6 separate regions of the Homo sapiens genome follow, and all the other regions are linked to region 6. The links are contacts of gene promoters, found by promoter capture Hi-C in blood cells and fetal thymus (Javierre and others, 2016). All regions are on one chromosome and are shown on one strand. Each heading gives the region's core, a stretch centred on a gene start or on the middle of the fragment in contact. The rest is flanking DNA. Distances are from core to core; before and after follow the strand shown. Region 1 has its middle 18 kb from the start of DHX15. Region 2 overlaps DHX15 (DEAH-box helicase 15). Region 3 overlaps DHX15 (DEAH-box helicase 15). Region 4 has its middle 33 kb from the start of LINC02473. Region 5 overlaps DHX15 (DEAH-box helicase 15). Region 6 holds the start of LGI2 (leucine rich repeat LGI family member 2).

Region 1 (2,986 bases), core at 211-2,710, 430 kb before region 6:
GAATACCCTAAACCCCATAGTGGCTACTGCCGCAGCTCAGGAAAGAGAGGGAATGCTACCCATAGAGTACAGGAAGGCAGCAGGGCTACTGTCTCCCTCTAGGACTAGGCAAGGTACTAATTTTGGCCAGGGAGTCACTGAGTCTGGAGCAGGGAAGTTCCCACTGTAACAATATTCAGTAGGAGTCAATTAGCAAGGAGCTCCAGCCAACATTATTGGGCCTATAATACCACTGTATTTGCTACACAGTGCCCACCTGGGCAGATGTGCAGGCTCTCCTAAGCATTATGCTCACTGCAGATGAGCGGCAGCTGGTTTTCAATAAAGTGAAGGAAGAGGCGCAATGACTTCATCATGAAAATTCAGACAACACAGATCCGGGGGCGGCAATTCCCCACAGGGACCCTAATTGGGATATTGTAGAGGACATACATCCCACTGTAGCTAACCCATATACTAAGTTCATTTCTCTTCCTGGAGATTATAAATGGCTGACAGTATTGGATTTAAAAGATGCTTTCTTTTGCATACCCATAGACACAGAAAGTCAACTGTTGTTTGCCTTTGAATGGATAGATCTTGAAGCCGCAACGTGGTTTCAGTATCATTGGACTGCACTCCCACTAGGATTTAAAAACTCTCCACATATATTTGGGGAAGCCTTGGCTTGAAATTTAAAGAGTTTAAAATTGGAAAATGGGGTATTGTTACAATATGTGGGTGATTTACTAATACCTAGCCTCTCTGAATGGGAATGTCAGAATAACACCATTAAAACTCTTAACCACCTAGCCACCCGTGGGTATAAGGTTTCAAGTAAAAAAGCTTAGATATGCCAACAAACTGTGGCATACTTAGATTTTCTCTTGCAGGAGGGAGCTAGAGCTCTAATAGTGGAAAGACAAAATGCAATCGCTTCCATTGCAGCACCCACTACCAGAAGGTAGTTGAGAGGATTTCTAGGCAAGGCAGGGTTTTGTTAGATCTGGATTCCTAACTATGAACTACCAATGAAGCCGCTATACAGTCTGTTAAGGGACCTAACAATGATGCCTTCGATTGGGAGCAAAACACCAGCACTCATTTGGACAACTGAAATGTAAGTTAACCTCCACCCTATTCCTGGGGCTCCCAAATCCTCATAAGCCTTTTCAATTGTACATGCATGAGAGACTGGGTCTAGCACTGGGGATCCTTAACACAGAAATTAGGAGAAATCTTGCAGCCACTAGGCTTACTTTCCTAAACAACTGGATAATGTGGCCAAAGGCTGTCTCCTGTTCAAGGGCGGTCACTGCCACCTGCCTACTATTAAAGGAGGCTGAAAAGTTGACTTTGGGACAGCCTGTTACTGTCTACGTGCCTCACCAAGTACTAGTGTTACTAGAACAAAAGGGAGGCTACTGGCTGACAGTGGGCAGATTGAGCAAATACCAGGCCACACTCCTAGATGAACCCACAGTAAAAGTGCAGGTTACCAGAGCCTTGAACCCAGCTACTTTACTTCCCTCTACCGAAGAGCCAAAAGAACTTATGCATAATGTTTACCAATTATTGACTAAGGTGTTTTCCAGTCACCCTAATTTAAAGGACACAGCCCTGCCATATGCATACTGGACATTGTTCATGGATGGGAGCAGCCTGGTAACCGACAGAAAAAGAAATGCTATATATGTAATGGTAACGTTTTCAGAGGTCACAGAAGCCAGGACTTTACCACTAGGAACCTCTGCACAGAAGGCAGAACTGATTGCCCTTACAAGAGCCTGCAGTTGTTCCAGGTAAACAAGGCACTTGGAATAAATTGCAGACTATACTCAGCATGGAGACCACAGTCTTCTGGACAGACTGAAAGGAAAATCCAGCACTAAAAACAGTTATTGCCAAACTGTGCCAGGAAACTCAACCAAAATGAATTCAGGTACTTGGCATTGCATTGCTCTGGGTAAGAATGACCTCCCCAGATGTGGGATTAGGTTAAGTCCTGTGAAATGATACATGAGAGACCCTTTTGGGTTACTAGGGTGCCCCTTAATAAGAAGTCAACTATTAAACATTGTGTTACTCACTTGGGACAAATTCGTAACGTTTTGCATAAGCTTGCTTTCAACAACAGCATTGTGAACTCAGCAGAGCCACGCCACTCTTTCCAGTCCCGTGATCAAGTACTGCTAAAGAGTAGATGGGAACGGGCCCAACTCAGCAGCTACAGGAGAAATGGAAAGGGCCCTACTGGTGCTGCTAACTGCCAATTTCAGCACTGAAACTGGCGGGCATCAAGCCATGGATCCACTACACATTGTAAAAAAGTTCCTGCCAAAATAAATGTTCATAACAGAGGTCCCCAAGATAGCCAAATAGGAGGCAGAACCCCTCAAAGTCCTAAGATTTCTGTACAAAAAAGATAGGATTTTTTAAATAATATTTTTTCTTACTACATCTTTTGTTGTTTCTTTCTATACTCCTAACCTTTTCCTATGATGGTGTATTAGTTCAGATTCACACTGCTTTAAAGATACTACCTGAGACTAGGTAAAAGGAAAGATGTTTAATTGACTCACAGTTCTGTATGGCTGGGGAGGCCTCGGGAAACTTACAATCATGGCAGAAGGTGAAGGGCAAGCAAGCGTGTTCTTCACAAGGTGGCAGGAGAAAGAGAGCAAGCAATTCCCACACTTTAAAACCATCAGCTCCTGTGAGAACTCACTCACCATCATGAGAACAGCATGGAGAAAATCACCCCCATCATCTAATCACCTCCCATCAGGTCCCTCTCTCGACACATGGTGATTTCAACTGGAGATGAGATTTGGGTGAGGGCATTGAGCCAAACCATATCAAATGGGCACAAGATTATGCAGATAGATTACAACAAGACTCGTGCTGGGTCTGTGGTCTATTACCCCTCTCTATCACCAAGGCACTGCTTTGGTGGGCCTCCCCTATACAATGAAAAGATTAGGTTTCTTTATAGATCTTAAACAAT
Region 2 (2,885 bases), core at 143-2,642, 500 kb before region 6:
AGAATCACAACAGCAAGAGAATGGCTCCAAAGAAACTCTAAAAATTAAAAAAATTAAAAAAAAACCCTTTTTTAAAAGTATGTCTGAGAGACAGGGTCTCACTGTCACCCAGGCTGGAGTACAGTGGCATGATCATAGCTCACTGCAACCTCAAACTCCTGGGCTCAAGCAATCCTCCTGCCCAGCTTCCCCAGTAGCTGGGACTATAGACGTGCAGCACCACCATGCCCAGCTAATTTTTGTACACACCTATATATCTTTTAGTAGAGATGGATTCTGGCTATATTGCACAGGCTGGTCTTGAACCCCTGGCTTCAAGTGATCCTCCCATCCTGGCCTCCCAGAGTCCTGGGATTACAGGTGTGAGCCACCATGCCCAGCCCCTGAAGAAACTTTTCATGCTATTCAAATGTAACTTCACATTTGGCTTCAAATCCTGCCCATAAATATCAACAATCCCACTGTCCACTTAACAAAGGAAGGGTGTGAAAGATTAATCACACCATCCAGTCAATTCCCTCATACCTACACACTGAAATATAAATTCTCAATGAGTGAATGCAAGGCCATGACTCTAGCAACAGTCAGGTTCCATTTTGAGCAAAGTACTAACAAAAAACTGTTAGAACAAAAGGTGTACTTACCATTCTGGCTTGATATCTGTACATGTCCGGATGTAATTCTTTGTTGTTAGAACAAACTCATTATAAAGCACCCATTCAGGTTTGTGGTCAAGAACAGTAGAGGGATGCAACTGAACCACCTGGTTATCTTTCACAGTTAAGTAATGCCCTGTTCGTTCTAAATGTGCCACCTGAAACCAAAACCCAGTATATTATTAATACAATGCTTCTGACTTGCTAGTTGTAAAGCTACCTACATAATTAGGAAGAGGCAGGCCTCCCTTTTACTTTTCATTCTATGGCTATACTTATTTATCACTGTCTGATAAAAGCAGAGATAAGCAAACTGCTGCCTGTGGGCCAAATCCAACTCATAGCCTCTATTTGTAAGGTCTGTGAATCCAAAATGGTTTATTTATCTTTAATTAGAAAGAAAAAATATCATACAAAAAACATTCCGTGAAGCATGAGTAGCATGTAAAATTCAAACTTCAGTATCCATAAGGAAAGTTTTATTAGAACACAGGCATGCCCATTTGTCTATACCTATTATGCTCCAAGAGCAGGCAGTGTTAGGTAGTTTTGACAAGGACTTCATGGGTCCACAGAGCCCAACATTTACTATCTGATCTTTCCTGCCTGAGACCATCTAGAGCAGGCTCTTCAGCACTGGGCGCCAACTATGAGCAGACAATTACCAGAACATTCATGTCTAAGGTAGAAAACTAAAGCCAGGTGCAGTAATCCCAGCACTTTGGGAGGCTGAGACAGGCAGATCACCTGAGGTCAGGAGTTCGAGACCAGCCTGGCCAACACGGTGAAACCTCATCTCTACTAAAAGTACAAAAATTAGACAAGCGTGGTGGCGGGTGTCTGTATCCCAGCTACTCAGGAGGCTGAGGCAGGAGAATTGCCTGAACCCAGGAGGCGGAGGTTGCAGTGAGCTGAGATCAAGTCACTGCACTCCAGCCTGGGCGACAGACCGAGAGGCTCCATTTCAAAAAAGAAAATAAAGAAATAGAATAAAAAATAAGGTAGAAAACTAAAGAGGGCAAAGAGGAAAAGAAAAAGGTAACCTACAAAGACAGGAAAATAAAAATGGGAAAAAAAAAAGAGCTTGCACGTGCTTCCCTCTCATTTCTTTTTTTGGTAACACCTTGACTGGTGATACTCATCAAAATGGACAGTTCTCCCTTTCCAATTCTAATATTCTGTGCTTAAAGAATGAGCATGAATAATAGAAAAGAAACTCAATTTCATTCGAAATATTTACTAAACACCTATTAGGTGTCAGGTACTATAATGCATGCTGTTTCTAATAAATTTTTTGTTTGTTTTTAAAAAGAGATAGGGTTTTCCTATGTTGCCTGGGCTGGCTTCAACGCTCCTTGCTCTCCACTCAACTTCTCTAGTAGCTAGGACTACAAGCACACTCTGTGGTGCCTAGCTGTTTGTAACAAATTTTAATCTACATAATTAAGAAGTATAATGCTTGAATATAGTTTCATCAATTTTTTTTTTTTTTTTGAGACGGAGTCTCGCTCTGTCGCCCAGGCTGGAGTGCAGTGGCGCTATCTCGGCTCACTGCAAGCTCTGCCTCCCAGGTTTACGCCGTTCTCCTGCCTCAGCCTCCCGAGTAGCTGGGACTACAGGCACCCGCCACCGCGCCCGGCTAATTTTTTGTATTTTTAGTAGAGACGGGGTTTCACCATGTTAGCCAGGATGGTCTCGATCTCTTGACCTCGTGATCCACCCGCCTCGGCCTCCCAAAGTGCTGGGATTACAGGCGTGAGCCACAGCGCCCGGCCAGTTTTTTTCTGAAATATAAAAAGCAAATTTAAGAACATGTCAACCCAGGCCTGGTGGCTCACGTCTGTAATCTCAGCACTTTGGGAGGTCGAGGTAGGAGGATCATTTGAAGCCAGAAGTTCAAGATCAGCCTGGGCAACGTGGCGAGGCCCTCTCTCTACACACACAAAAAGGCAAAAATTAGCTAGGCATAGTGGTGCGTGCCTGTAGTCCCAGGAACTCAGGAGTCTGAGGTGGGAGGATCACCAGAGCCCAGGGAGGTAAAAGCTGCAGTGAGCCGTGATTGCACCACTGCACTCCAGCCTGGGAGTGAGACATTGCCTCCCTCACCCCATCCCCTCCCCCTAAAAAAGAACAGAACATGTCAAAGAGAAGCCAGTACAACATATCAAATATTAAGAATATAGTTAAGAGTTTCAAGAAAGAATGCTCATACCTATCATTCACCAAACT
Region 3 (3,035 bases), core at 217-2,716, 480 kb before region 6:
AACATTTTTAAGTCGAAGGAGAACACTCTAAAATAATGATAAAACATGTAGTATAGTAAATACAAAAACCACTAACAATGTCCTATTATCATTATTATTATGTACTGGACATAATTGTACATACTATATAGTACTTTTAAAACAACTGGCAGCAAAGTAGGTTTGTTTGAACTAGCATCATCACAAAGCAGTGAGTAATGTGTTGTGCTGTGATGCTGCAAGGTTACGTTCAGCTCCACTATAATCTTACGGGAGCAGCACCACAGCTATCTGAGAAGTTTGTCTTGACCAAAACGTTGTTATGTGGCACATGACTATATTCTAACACATGTGCATTCAAGAGGAGACATAATGAATATCAAGACGGAAAAAAAGAGAGAGACAGATTATGTATGATAGCTCTGGGAGAGGCAAAGGAACTTAAAAATGGAAGGCAGCACTGCGGACAAATGTATTCTAAATTTTATTGAAGTATTAATTCAATTAAACCCAGAAGTATGTAAAACGCTTATTATACACTAGGCAGCCTGTCCAATAAATGACCCAATCAGAAGCTACCCTTGTCAACAAAGTGCGTGTTTTTTTCAAAGGACAATGATACTAAACGGTGAGGAAGAATTTTAGGACATTTACTTTATATTTTTTTAATGTCCAACTGTGTCTCTATATCAAAAAACACAACGTTCTTAAACACAGTAAGAACAAATAAATTACTTTTCACTTATTTCAAACACATCAGTTTTTTTTAAAGGTTATCTGTCTCAAAAATTGTGACACAGAAAACTATTAAAGATTCAATGTTACTAGATCCTCCTTTGAAATCTCAAGTTTCTAAAAGAAAATGAAAGTAGATGCTATTCATCTAAATAAAAAATATAACAAAGCGAACAAATATTTTTTGAAAATACTGCTTTCAAATGTTGTATCTAGATTAGAATGCCCCCTGCTGGCATGCAAATAAAAAATTAAGAGCTCTCCAACTTAAAAAACATTTGAACATAATATAAAACTAGGATTCCAACATTTAAGAGTATCTGCAATTTTGTTAATTTTACTGTACATAAATGAAAAATAAATGCTCAGAAATCACAAAATATCCAGATTTCACACATTAAAAATTAAGTGCTTAAATTAGACATTTGCTTTGTGATTCCAGTATTTTAAAATGACAATTCCAACTTTACTGGAGATTAGACTACCCAATCTGCTAAGTATGCAAGGAGCTAAAACAAAATGATGACTATGTAGGATATAAAGGCATCTCTAAAATGTGGAAGAAATCCCGTAACACTTAAGTTTTTAGATAAAGTCCTAAACAGCTTTAAAACTTGCAATAAAAATTTTCCCTGAGGTTTGCCAAACTTCCAAGAAGTCAACACTATCAGCTGAGAATGCCACAAAACTTATCTGCATTCATCAGAATATAAACAGAAACAGGTAGTGGAGGAAAAGAAGTTTCAACAGCAGCCATCTGCTTAGTCATTAGCAATACTGAGAATAAAGACAGACAGTTCAGGAGTTTTTGATTTGAGAAAAGATTTTTAACTCCAAAAGCAGCAATATGTTAGTAAATTAATCTGGACCTTACCAATTAACTCACTGCATGTTGAAAAAAAAATTTACTAAGCAAAATTAAAAATAAAATTATTTAATTACAATCACTCTTATCTAATTACTATCTAGGCAACACTTTAAACTGTTCTCTCTCCCTCCCAAATTAACTCATGTGACTACAGAAGCACTTTTATTTAGTGGTCAGAATATGTTCTTAAAAACCAGTTTTAAATTTTTATGAGATTACTCAATTTCATGGAGGCTATTCAAATTTATGAAGAAAGGAGTACTGATTTCGCAGTTGCATTTAACTTACCAAGTAAAAATAATGAAGGTTCACAAAAATGAGAAGGTAATATTTACTTTAGACCAGCTCTACTACTAAATACAACAAATGAAATGTAAACAAAACGTTAGGTTTTCTGCTACCTTCTCCCCAAAACTCTTCAAATTCAAGACTGGGAATCTAAAGATAACTTAAAGAAGCAATGGTATGCAAAAAAACAGCTGACAACTAGAGCAGCATTTTATTTCATGAAAGACACTCTAGCATACATCTGAAAACCCTTCGGCTTACTCCCTTCCTTTCCCCAGCTGTGGGATTCACAGAAAATACCGCACAAAGTTGTCTCAGAGAAAAACCTTTCGGGTCCTTAACCATGAGGCCATTTGATATTTCTGATAGAATCTCAATACGCTTATGTTATCTGAGAATGATGACAATTTTAAATAGTGATTTAAAAAATAAAAATATGGCCAGGTGCAGTGGCTCACGCCTGTAATCCCAGCACTTTGGGAGGCCGAGGCGGGTGGATCACCTGAAGTTGGGAGTTCAAGACCAGCCTGACCAACACGGAGAAACCCCATCTCTACCAAAAATACCAATTAGTTGGGCATGGTGGCGCATGCCTGTAATCCCAGCTACTCGGAAGGCTGAGGCAGGAGAATCACCTGAACCTGGGAGGCAGAGGTTGCGGTGAGCCGAGATCGCGCCACTGCACTCCAGCCTGGGCAACAAGAGCAAAACTCCATCTCAAATAAATAAATAATAAAACAAAATAAATAAAAATAAAAATATACTATGCACTTTGGAGGAAATGAGAAACTAGAGACCAGACACAAGAGGACAAAACGATTATCCCAACAGCCTCAATACTACATTACAGCACAAATGCTGTTTATATGCCATCAAAAAAGCATTTTGGGGCCAGGTGTGGTGGCTCGCGCCTATAATCCCAGCACTTTGGGAACCCGAGAAGGGCAGATCACCTGAGGTCAGGAGTTCGAGACTAGCCTGGCCAACATAGTGAAACCCCGTCTCTACTAAAAATTAAAAAAAAATTAGCCAGGTGTGATGGTGGGCACCTGTGATCCCAGCTACTTGGGAGGCTGAGGCAAGAGAATCGCTTGAACCCGGGAGGCAGAGGTTGCAGTGAGCCGATAATCATGCCACTGCGCTCCAGCCTGGTTGACAGAGCGCG
Region 4 (2,921 bases), core at 271-2,770, 400 kb before region 6:
CAATGAGAAGGAATGATGGAGTCAAAATATCACCACTGTGCAAGTCTTGACAAATCAGTGGATATAGGTGTGCTAAACAACAAAGAGAGATGATCAGACTTTCCATGTCACCTTCTATGACAAATATTTGCCTGAAAATTGAACCTGAGTCTGATCAAAGCTCTAGATCTAACCACCAACATCCAGGAACTACAGGAGACAAAAGAATACATTAAATGACACCACAGAGGTACAATTATCAAAATTCAGGTTAGGAAAATGCTGCCGGACAACCTGTTTTCTTCAGTAAATTGCAAGAAAACACATAACGAAGGAGGTGTCAACAGATTAAAAAAGATTTAAACACCTATCACTACCAACTGAAATTTATAGCCTATTTAGATCCTAAGTCTAAAAAATAAATTAAACTATCCTGAGACAATTGGGGAAATTTAAGCAGTGACTAGATATTTAATCATATCAAGAAATTATTGCTAATTTTTAAGATATAATAAATGTTAAGAAAGAAAGACTAAAATTTTTACAGATTGAAAAACTAATAATATTCCCCTAAATAAATATAGCAAAATTCCATGTATTATCCTAATAGTTCTCTTTTTGGGGGGTAGAATGCGTTGGATAAAATTATTTTAAAAGCCACATGGAAATGTAAGTGCCTGAATAACAAAGAAAATATGCAGAAGATAAATAATGAGAGACTTGCCTTCAACTGAAAGCCACTGTAATAAAAATCACTGGAATACAATCAACGTGGTATTGGCATAAGAGTAGACAAATCAGTGGAACAGAAGAGTGGATCCAAAAATAGATCTCAGTATATATCATAATTTAATATGTGACAAAGGTAGTATTTCAATTCTGTGGGAAAGAATGGCTTACTTAATAAGTATTGCTGGCATAACTGCCTATTCTTCTGGAGCAAAATGAACTTGTATCTCAATTTCACAACAAATCCAAAAATAAATTCCAAATGGATTAAAAACATAAATGTAAACAATAAGTTTAAAAAAAATATTTAGGTGACTACATGCAAATCTAGGGGACAGAGAACATCTTTTAAACTAAAACCAGAAACCTGGAAAGTATAAAAGGTAGACATATTTGATTACATAAAAATTTCAAACCTTTATATGGTGAAAGGTACCCAAACAAAGTCAAGAGTCAAAATGCATTTAGAAAAATATGTACAATGTAGATAACAGATATTGGGTTAATATTTCTTATATATAACAAATTCTTGCAAATTGATAAGAAAAAGATAAACCATTCCAATTTTTAAAAAGGTCAATAAGTATGAAAAAGGAAATAAACCGAATAGCAAATCCAAATGGCTGGTAAACATATGAAAAGGTACCCAACTCAGTGGCAGCCAGGGAATTGCAAATTAAAATAATAATGAGATATTACTCTACATGCAACAGATTGGCAGAAGTTAAAAAGAATGATATTATCTATTCCAATCTCATGCATTACTTGTGAAAATGTGAATTGTCACATTTTGAGAAAAACAAATGCCAAGCAGCATCCATTATAATAAAGAATCCTCATACCCTTTAACCCAATGATTGCACTCCTGGGATTGTAGTCAGTAAAAATAAAATAATCAATATGGAGAGCTATATGTAAAGTTGTTTATTGCAGAATTATAGTAACAAAAACCTAAAAACAAAGTCAATATACATCCATAAGGGAATGGCTGAATAAATGTGTGTGTATTTGCATCATAAAATACTATGCAGTTGGCCGGGTGTGGTGGCTCATGCCTGGAAACCCAGCTCTTTGGGAGGCTGAGGTAGGTGGATCATTTGAGCCCAGGAGTTCAAAACCAGCCTGGGCAACATAGCAAGACCTCGTCTCTACCAAAAATATAAAAATTAGCTAGGCATGGTGGTGCATGCCTATAGTTCCAGCTACTAGGGAGGCTGAGGTGGGAGGATCACTTGAGCCCAGGAGGTTGGGGCTGCAGAGAGCCATGAACACATCATTGCACTACAGCCTGGGTAACTGAGTGGGACCCTGTCTCAAAAAAAAAAATACTATGCAGTTACTAAGAAGAAGGAATTAGAACTACTGCATATGAATTAGAAGGATTGCTACAAGGTGTTGAGTGAGAAAGGCAAGATGCCAAGAATGGTGTATATTATGGTTTCCAGTAATAAACAGTATTCAGTCATGCATCACTTAAGGATGGGGATGCTTTCTCAAAATGCATTGTTAAGCAATTTTGTTGTTACGTGAATATCATAGAGTGTACTTACATCAACCTAGGTGGTAGAGGCTACTACTGCACACTTAGGCTATATGGTGTGGTCTGTGGCTCCTAGGCTACAAACTTGTATAACATGTTATTGTACTGAAAACTATAGATAATTGTAACACAACTGTGTACCTAAACATACAAAACGTACAGCAAAAATATGGCATTATAATTCTTTGTTTCTTTGGGGCCAGTGTTGTATATGTGGTTTGTCATTGACCGAAATGTGGTTATGCAGCACATGACTGTGTATGGATGAGTGTGTGTGTGTGTGTATGTATGTGTAAACATGTATATTTGTGTACAAACTTCTACTTATAATTACATGAGTTTGGGAAAAAAGTTTGGAATGCTCTACATTGGATTGTTAACAGGAATTTTGTCGAGTTGTGTGTGAGGGTGTGAGATTTGGGTAAAATCTGAAAGGAGAAGGGTAGAAGAAAAATTGGATCTAATTTTTTTAGCTACCATAATGATATTCTGTTAATATATTTACATATTAATATGTATATAATACATTATATGCATATATACCTAAAATATAATACACACGTATAATGTGTGTGTATATATATGATATAATATACATGAGAGGAGAAAAAGCTAGAGTTGAATCCATATCTGCATATTTGTAGAGATGCACATGATAAGGTGTTAAATTTAA
Region 5 (2,885 bases), core at 269-2,768, 460 kb before region 6:
AGTAATACAACATAATGAGCTATGATTTTGCTTATGCAATTATTGTCAATTATACTGTAATTACCAGTGATCAATAACGTATCACTGAACAACTACAAGAATTTATTCAGTGAAGATTAAGGTTTAAGCCAAAAATATGTCCCATAAAGTCATAAGGATAAGCTTATTTAAATATTTTAAAGTTCAACTGCTATTAAATATCACGCTGAATAAAAAGTTCTAATAAAATGAGATAAATCAAAGAATTAGAAAAAACTGACACAAATGTTGAATGAAAACTGGATATTTTGATCCAATAAATTGTTTTAAGTTATGATAGCTCTATTTTAAGAAACTATCTCAGAGATACACACTGAAATATTTATATATATAATTATTTGGTATCTAAGACTGCTTCGAAATAACATGGGACAGGGAAATAAATTAAGATTGGATATGAAATAAATAAGACTGAAATAGTTAAAAGTCGATGATAAACACATGCAGTTCATTATTCTATTCAATTTCTGCGGCTGGGTGTAGTGGCTCACGCCTGTAATCCCAGCACTGTGGGAGGCTGAGGCGGGCGGATCATGAGGTCAGGAGTTAGAGACCAGCCTGGCCAACATAGTGAAACCACAACTCTACTAAAGATACAAAAAGTTAGCCAGGCATGGTGGCGCACACCTATAGTCCCAGCTACCTGAGAGGCTGAGGCAGGAGAATCGCTTGAACCCGGGAGGCGGAGGTTGCAGAGAGCCGAGATGGCGCCACTGCACTCCAGCCTGGGCAACAGAGTGAGACTCCATCTCAAAAAAAAAAAAAAAAAAAAAAAAGAGAGACTCTTGTTTCATTTATCCCATTAACACTATATATCTCTCTGACAACAAAGACTCTGACAACAAAGACTCATATCACTGCCTACACAACGCTCCAAAATGGTTTTTAAAAACCTCAGGGAGAAGATCACATAGATATGATTTTTCTTTTTTTTTAAAAGAAATGTGGTCTTGCTATGTTGCTCAGGTTCAAATGCAGTAGCTATCACAGGCATGATCAGAGCACACTGTAGCCTTGAACTCCTGGCCTCAAGCAATAATCCTGCTTCAGCCTACGAAGTGGCTGGGAATAAACAGGCATATGCCACTGAGCCCCACTCAAACAAGTCACATTTAAAAGGACTTAAATATCACATAAATACAGAATAAGCAGAAGCAACCAGAGGGAAGACTTGAGAAAGAATCATCATCAGGTAGCATACATCATAACTTATGCAGAATGCAAGTATAAGACAATAAAAAGTTGGTAGAGTTAAAACATTAGAAAGCTCAATACAGTAGTCAATTATCTGCACCATAGCTATAGAGGAACAAGGACCTAGAGGCAGCTCTAACAGTGTATTACAGAACAAAAGATTCCTCTTTTTAGCTTATAACAGATGCACGGTAATAGCTGCATAATTAACATTAAAAGTCCCCTCTCCCCTAAATAAATCACATCCCATCCTATACATTCTTCTTTCTAAAAGTAGTTATCTTTTACTAAGTAAGACATATCACTTTCCTTTTCTTTCACAATTAAGTCATACACCATTGTGTCTACTAAAACCACACATTTTACAGTATCAGTAACATTTCACCTAAAATGCAGAACCAAGTAACTAAAATCTGACCTTTGAACTTCAATTTCTACCAAGTAACTATAGATTACCAATAATATATAATTAAACTAAGGTCATGTGGTAAGTCTAAGAAGGCCTACTTTGGATAATTCTAAATTTGGATGACATAAGCCTGCACTAGCAAAGTCTTCTATCTAATAGCAGAAAATGGCAAGCAGAGGACTAAAAGCGTCATTAAAGATATAGTACTTACTTAAGAATGGTTTTTGCACTACTGCAGTCTTCAAATCGAATGGAGTAACCAACTTCCTGGCCCAACATCACATCCATCTCATCAGCAACTCTCTGAGCCACACTCATTGCAGCCACTCTCCTGGGTTGGGTACAGGCAACTCCTCTCTTGGGTCCTGGTAATGATCGCATGTACTCCACACACCACTGTGGAATCTATCAAATAATTTCACATTTAAATTAATTCTATTCTGCCTGCATATCAAGTATATGTAACATAAAGCACTTTATCTCATTCTAATGATTTAAAACCAAATCCAATTAGGCAAATGACTATAAGACTTGTGATTCAAAACTTGTAACAACACAAGCTCTCTAAACCAAGGAACAGTTATGTGTAATACTGATATGACACACACCCAAGTTGGGTAGACACAATCAGGAATACACTCGACAGTGTGACTATCCCATCATGAAGTATTTCTCTATGCAATTTTAAAAAATCCAACTTACAACAAATTCTACTTTATAACAAACGTTTCTAAGAAAGTGTAACTTTTAAATTCTTACATAATTTGAGTTGCAAAATCAAGTGGAAATCATACCCCCTTGTAACTCTGAAGCTGTACTTTTATTTAATTCAATTCAAATTTGGTTTATAAGCCAGCAGAACCTAACTCTTAGCACCCAACTCTTTTGTAATCCTATCCTTTCCCCCTCAGGAGCAGTATGCACAATGGTAGCACCTTAGGTACCATCTTAAAATCAATTTTAAGAACTGCCAGTCTCAAATTTAACAGGACCTAGAGCAGCACCACTTCGTTAAGGGCAGCCAAAGGGTTGGGGGACCCCCAAGCACAAGTTAAATTGGTTGCCATGACGGCAGTACATTTTCCCCCAGTTCCATTATCAATATAAGCTAATGGATTCCCCAATTTTACAGTTTTCCAGTCACTTAACTGGAAAAGAACCATGGGAAAAATGTAAGTGCTCACCATATTATATGGAAATCCACTGCTAGAAGAGCATAACTGGTTTACATCAAAGCTTCCAA
Region 6 (3,073 bases), core at 571-3,070:
GAGGCAAGATGCTTGGCTTTATTTCTGCCCCCAGGCCCCCATCCTTTCTGGCCACAGCAGGATCTGAATACATTATTTCAGAATTCCTTTCAGTTGGCATGCAGATCACTTAAGCAGCTGCTGGTCTGAAGGATTTAATAAGGGGAACTCTAATTTCTGGAATCCTCCATGTCACCCGACTTAGCAATATTAAGAATCAAAAAGGTCCTCTGTTCCCACCAGCCAAACTCTTCTGACTTTCTATAAATGCAAATGGGAACCCCCTCACTCCTGGGTCCAGGCCCCTACAATTTGCCTTGGGTGGGAGGCTGGGAAGCACTGGACACAAGAAAGTATCTTGAGCACAAGCAACGTCACCCCGGGGATTCCCTGCCTCCACCACTGACTGGGCACCCAGGCATCTTGGCCTGGAACAAGAGAGTGGTCTTAGCAGGAAACATGTCCTAGCAGTAAAGATACAGCCCAACAGCCCCTTCCACCGCCCTTGTGAGAGCTGGTCATTTGGCTTGAGTGGCCAGGTGAGGGCAGGATGAAAGCACCTCTCGGCAGGTGGATACCTAATGTGAAGCCCTTTCCTGTCAGTTCCTCCTGCTGAAAAAGCAGCCAACACAACTGTGTGATGGAGAAAGGGGGCAAGAAGCCCTCCTGACCTCAGGGCAAGAAGGCTGACTTCAAAGCACTTGGCCACTGGGCTAGGCGCCCAACATGCCCCAAACCTCTGCCCAGCCTTCTGTTACCCCTCTTCTAGGCCACGGGGGGCGGCCCCTCCCCTCCCAGAGCCTGCATGCCTTGACCTCGACTTTTTGCAACCTGCAATGTGGAGAAGTCGGGAGGAGGCCACGGGGTGAACATTCGCCCCAGACCTGATGTGGGGCAGTGAGGCCTCACCCTGCCCAGTTTGCACTCAGTCAGGTCGTGTTCAGCTGCTCCTATGCACGCCCCTACACACACAACTCCAACCCGCAAACACACACACACACACGCACACGCCCTCTCAAACTTTAATGCACCCTTGAGTCTCCCGGGGACGTCAAACGCACACTCCAGGACTCCACTCCAAAGACTGCTTCAGAGCAGCTGGATTCTGCATTGGCACAAGCTTCCCCAGGTGAGTCTGATGCAGGTGGCCCGTGGGCCACACTCTGAGAAACGCTGCCACAGGAACCTGTCTGGGTTCCCAGATTCTGGGGCTCAGGTCCTCACCGTCCTCCCCGGGGGCCAACACTCCACCCACGTCCCCCACACAAAGGCAAAGAAGGGGCCTGGGGAGTGGGTCAGGGTCGCGCTGGCCCGGCGCCAGAGGCAACTCCCTCGCGGCGGCGGACGCAGGGTGGGGCGGGACGGGATGGGGGCTGGAGGGGTCCCACTCACAGGGAGCTGATGTCGCCCGGCACGATCCTGGGCACCCAGGAAGAGCCCACGCAGATGATAGACTCCTTGGTACAGCTGCAAGTGGCGGGGCAGCGCGCCAGCCGCCTCACCTGCGCGCTCCGCGGTATCAGGCACGCGGCGCCCAGCAGCAGCAGCAGCAGCCCGAGCGCTCCGCAGCCGCCTCTCCGCAGCGCCATGCCCGGTCCCCGCTCCCCGCCCGGGCCCCGACCCCCACCGCCGCGCCGCGCGCTCGGACCCGGCGCCGCTGCAGACGCGGGCGCCGCTCGCTGCTCTGCCGCCGCCGCTGCTGGCGAGGACTAGGGAGCCGCGGGTGTGGGAGGCCGAGCCGCAGCCGAGCAGCATGCTGGCCGCCACCCCCACTCGGCGCCCCCCCACCCGAGCCCGGGCTGCTGGGCGGCCGCCGCCGCTGCGCCCGCCGCACTCGCGCCTGCCTGACATCAGCACTCGCGCCCGCAGCCCGGCTCTGGCCAATGAATAATGCATGGCGGGGCCCGCCCCGCGGGGGAGGGGGCCAGCGCCGGCCCCGTGGCGCCCCACCCGGCCCCCACCTCGCCACCCCCTCTCGCCCCGGGCCGGGCGCGGGGACAGAGGGAAAAGTTGGGTGACCTTGGGGGAGGGGCCAAGCCTGGCGGAGACCCCCGTCGGGGCCTGACTGAGCGGTGGAGGATCCGATGCCTGCAATACCTCCAGGGGTATAATCTGGGGAGGGCACTGGGTTCCTTTCAGGCAAATCAATAAAGTCGGAGCGGGGAGTGTGGAGAACCGGCTTGATTACTGGGGAGGGAGGCAGCCCTGGGTGCTTTGAAGAGGAGAGACTTTGGAGCAGCCTTTATTAATTTTGAAGTGCATGCTGCCGGTAGGGTCAGCGAGGATGGCTTTGCTTGTCTTCTGCGGTGGGGCAGTGAGGTCTGGCTCTCGCTCCCACAGCACCAGGGGTTACTGAAGCCAGCCAGTCCTCCCATGGGAGGAACGTGGGGAAGCAAAGCCGCTGCAGCCTGCACGCCCGGCGCTCTGGGCCCTGCCTGCTGCCTGCTAAAGAGCTGGAAAGCCCGGGAAAGTTTCCCCTCGCTCAGCTGCCCACGGGTCACCCCACCCGCCCCAGTCAGAGGAGGGTTTGTAGAGATTGAGGGTGTGATACATTCTAGCCACTGTACTTTTAATCTTCTAACCTTTTGAGGCAGGTCCTACTTATATCCTTAATTTATTGATGAGGCTGCTGACGCCCAGAAAGCATCCTGACTGGCTGATGGTCCAGCAGCTCCTGGCTGGGCAGGATGGGGCTCGGAGCCTTGAAGGGCTACCTTAACTGGGCCCTCCTGAGCCCCTCTTCAACTCCTTAAGTTTGAAGCAATGAGCGGAAATCTTAACACAGGTAATGTGCGGCTGAGGAAATCAAAGAAAATGACCAAAGCGGAAACAAAGTAATGGCTAATAACCTGAACTGCTGGGAGAAGGGAATCACAGCACGACTGTCGAGCTGCAAACCAAGGAAAAGCATGCCAGATGCTAAAACCTACTCAGAAAAGTCAGTATCGAATGCAAAAGTAGGAATCATACTATTGCTTCTTCAGCAATTATTGTTGGTGATCCATTGACAAGATCCATGAGGACGGTATCAGGCTGGCTGCTGTGGGAGGGAACAAAGGAACAGCTCCTGTCCTCAGGGAGCTAAAAGTCTAGC

The links. The method cuts DNA at HindIII sites, captures the fragments that hold promoters and counts their contacts. A CHiCAGO score of 5 or more calls a contact.
Region 1: a fragment that was not itself captured here is called in contact with the fragment with the promoter of LGI2 in region 6 in 1 of 17 cell types (M1 macrophages); the score reaches 5.2 in M1 macrophages.
Region 2: a contact is called between a fragment that was not itself captured here and the fragment with the promoter of LGI2 in region 6, in 1 of 17 cell types (M2 macrophages). The highest score is 6.7, in M2 macrophages.
Region 3: a contact is called between a fragment that was not itself captured here and the fragment with the promoter of LGI2 in region 6, in 2 of 17 cell types (M2 macrophages and M1 macrophages). The highest score is 6.2, in M2 macrophages.
Region 4: a fragment that was not itself captured here is called in contact with the fragment with the promoter of LGI2 in region 6 in 1 of 17 cell types (M2 macrophages); the score reaches 6.9 in M2 macrophages.
Region 5: a fragment that was not itself captured here is called in contact with the fragment with the promoter of LGI2 in region 6 in 1 of 17 cell types (M1 macrophages); the score reaches 5.3 in M1 macrophages.

What each region holds. Positions count from the first base shown.
Region 1 is chr4:24,601,344-24,604,329 of GRCh38, forward strand. No RefSeq gene overlaps it. Among named protein-coding and RNA genes, the nearest start is that of DHX15, 18 kb to the left of the region's middle. The HindIII fragment of the contact is 1,274 bases long and covers 824-2,097 here.
Region 2 is chr4:24,528,957-24,531,841 of GRCh38, forward strand. It overlaps DHX15 (DEAH-box helicase 15), which reads right to left. Exons shown (of 14, transcript NM_001358.3): 13 at 645-814. Among named protein-coding and RNA genes, the nearest start is that of MIR573, 10 kb to the left of the region's middle. The HindIII fragment of the contact is 5,077 bases long and covers 1-2,885 here.
Region 3 is chr4:24,550,733-24,553,767 of GRCh38, forward strand. The region is part of intron 5 of DHX15 (DEAH-box helicase 15); the gene reads right to left. Among named protein-coding and RNA genes, the nearest start is that of MIR573, 32 kb to the left of the region's middle. RefSeq lists an enhancer at 2,458-3,026. The HindIII fragment of the contact is 3,436 bases long and covers 1-3,035 here.
Region 4 is chr4:24,625,288-24,628,208 of GRCh38, forward strand. No RefSeq gene overlaps it. Among named protein-coding and RNA genes, the nearest start is that of LINC02473, 33 kb to the right of the region's middle. The HindIII fragment of the contact is 7,679 bases long and covers 1-2,921 here.
Region 5 is chr4:24,568,801-24,571,685 of GRCh38, forward strand. DHX15 (DEAH-box helicase 15) reads right to left here. Exons shown (of 14, transcript NM_001358.3): 3 at 1,854-2,047. Among named protein-coding and RNA genes, the nearest start is that of DHX15, 14 kb to the right of the region's middle. The HindIII fragment of the contact is 2,716 bases long and covers 161-2,876 here.
Region 6 is chr4:25,029,126-25,032,198 of GRCh38, forward strand. It overlaps LGI2 (leucine rich repeat LGI family member 2), which reads right to left and starts at 1,821. Exons shown (of 8, transcript NM_018176.4): 1 at 1,372-1,821. The coding sequence starts at 1,568. LOC124900684 (a long non-coding RNA gene) reads left to right here and starts at 983. Exons shown (of 2, transcript XR_007058083.1): 1 at 983-1,108. The HindIII fragment of the contact is 5,840 bases long and covers 1,098-3,073 here.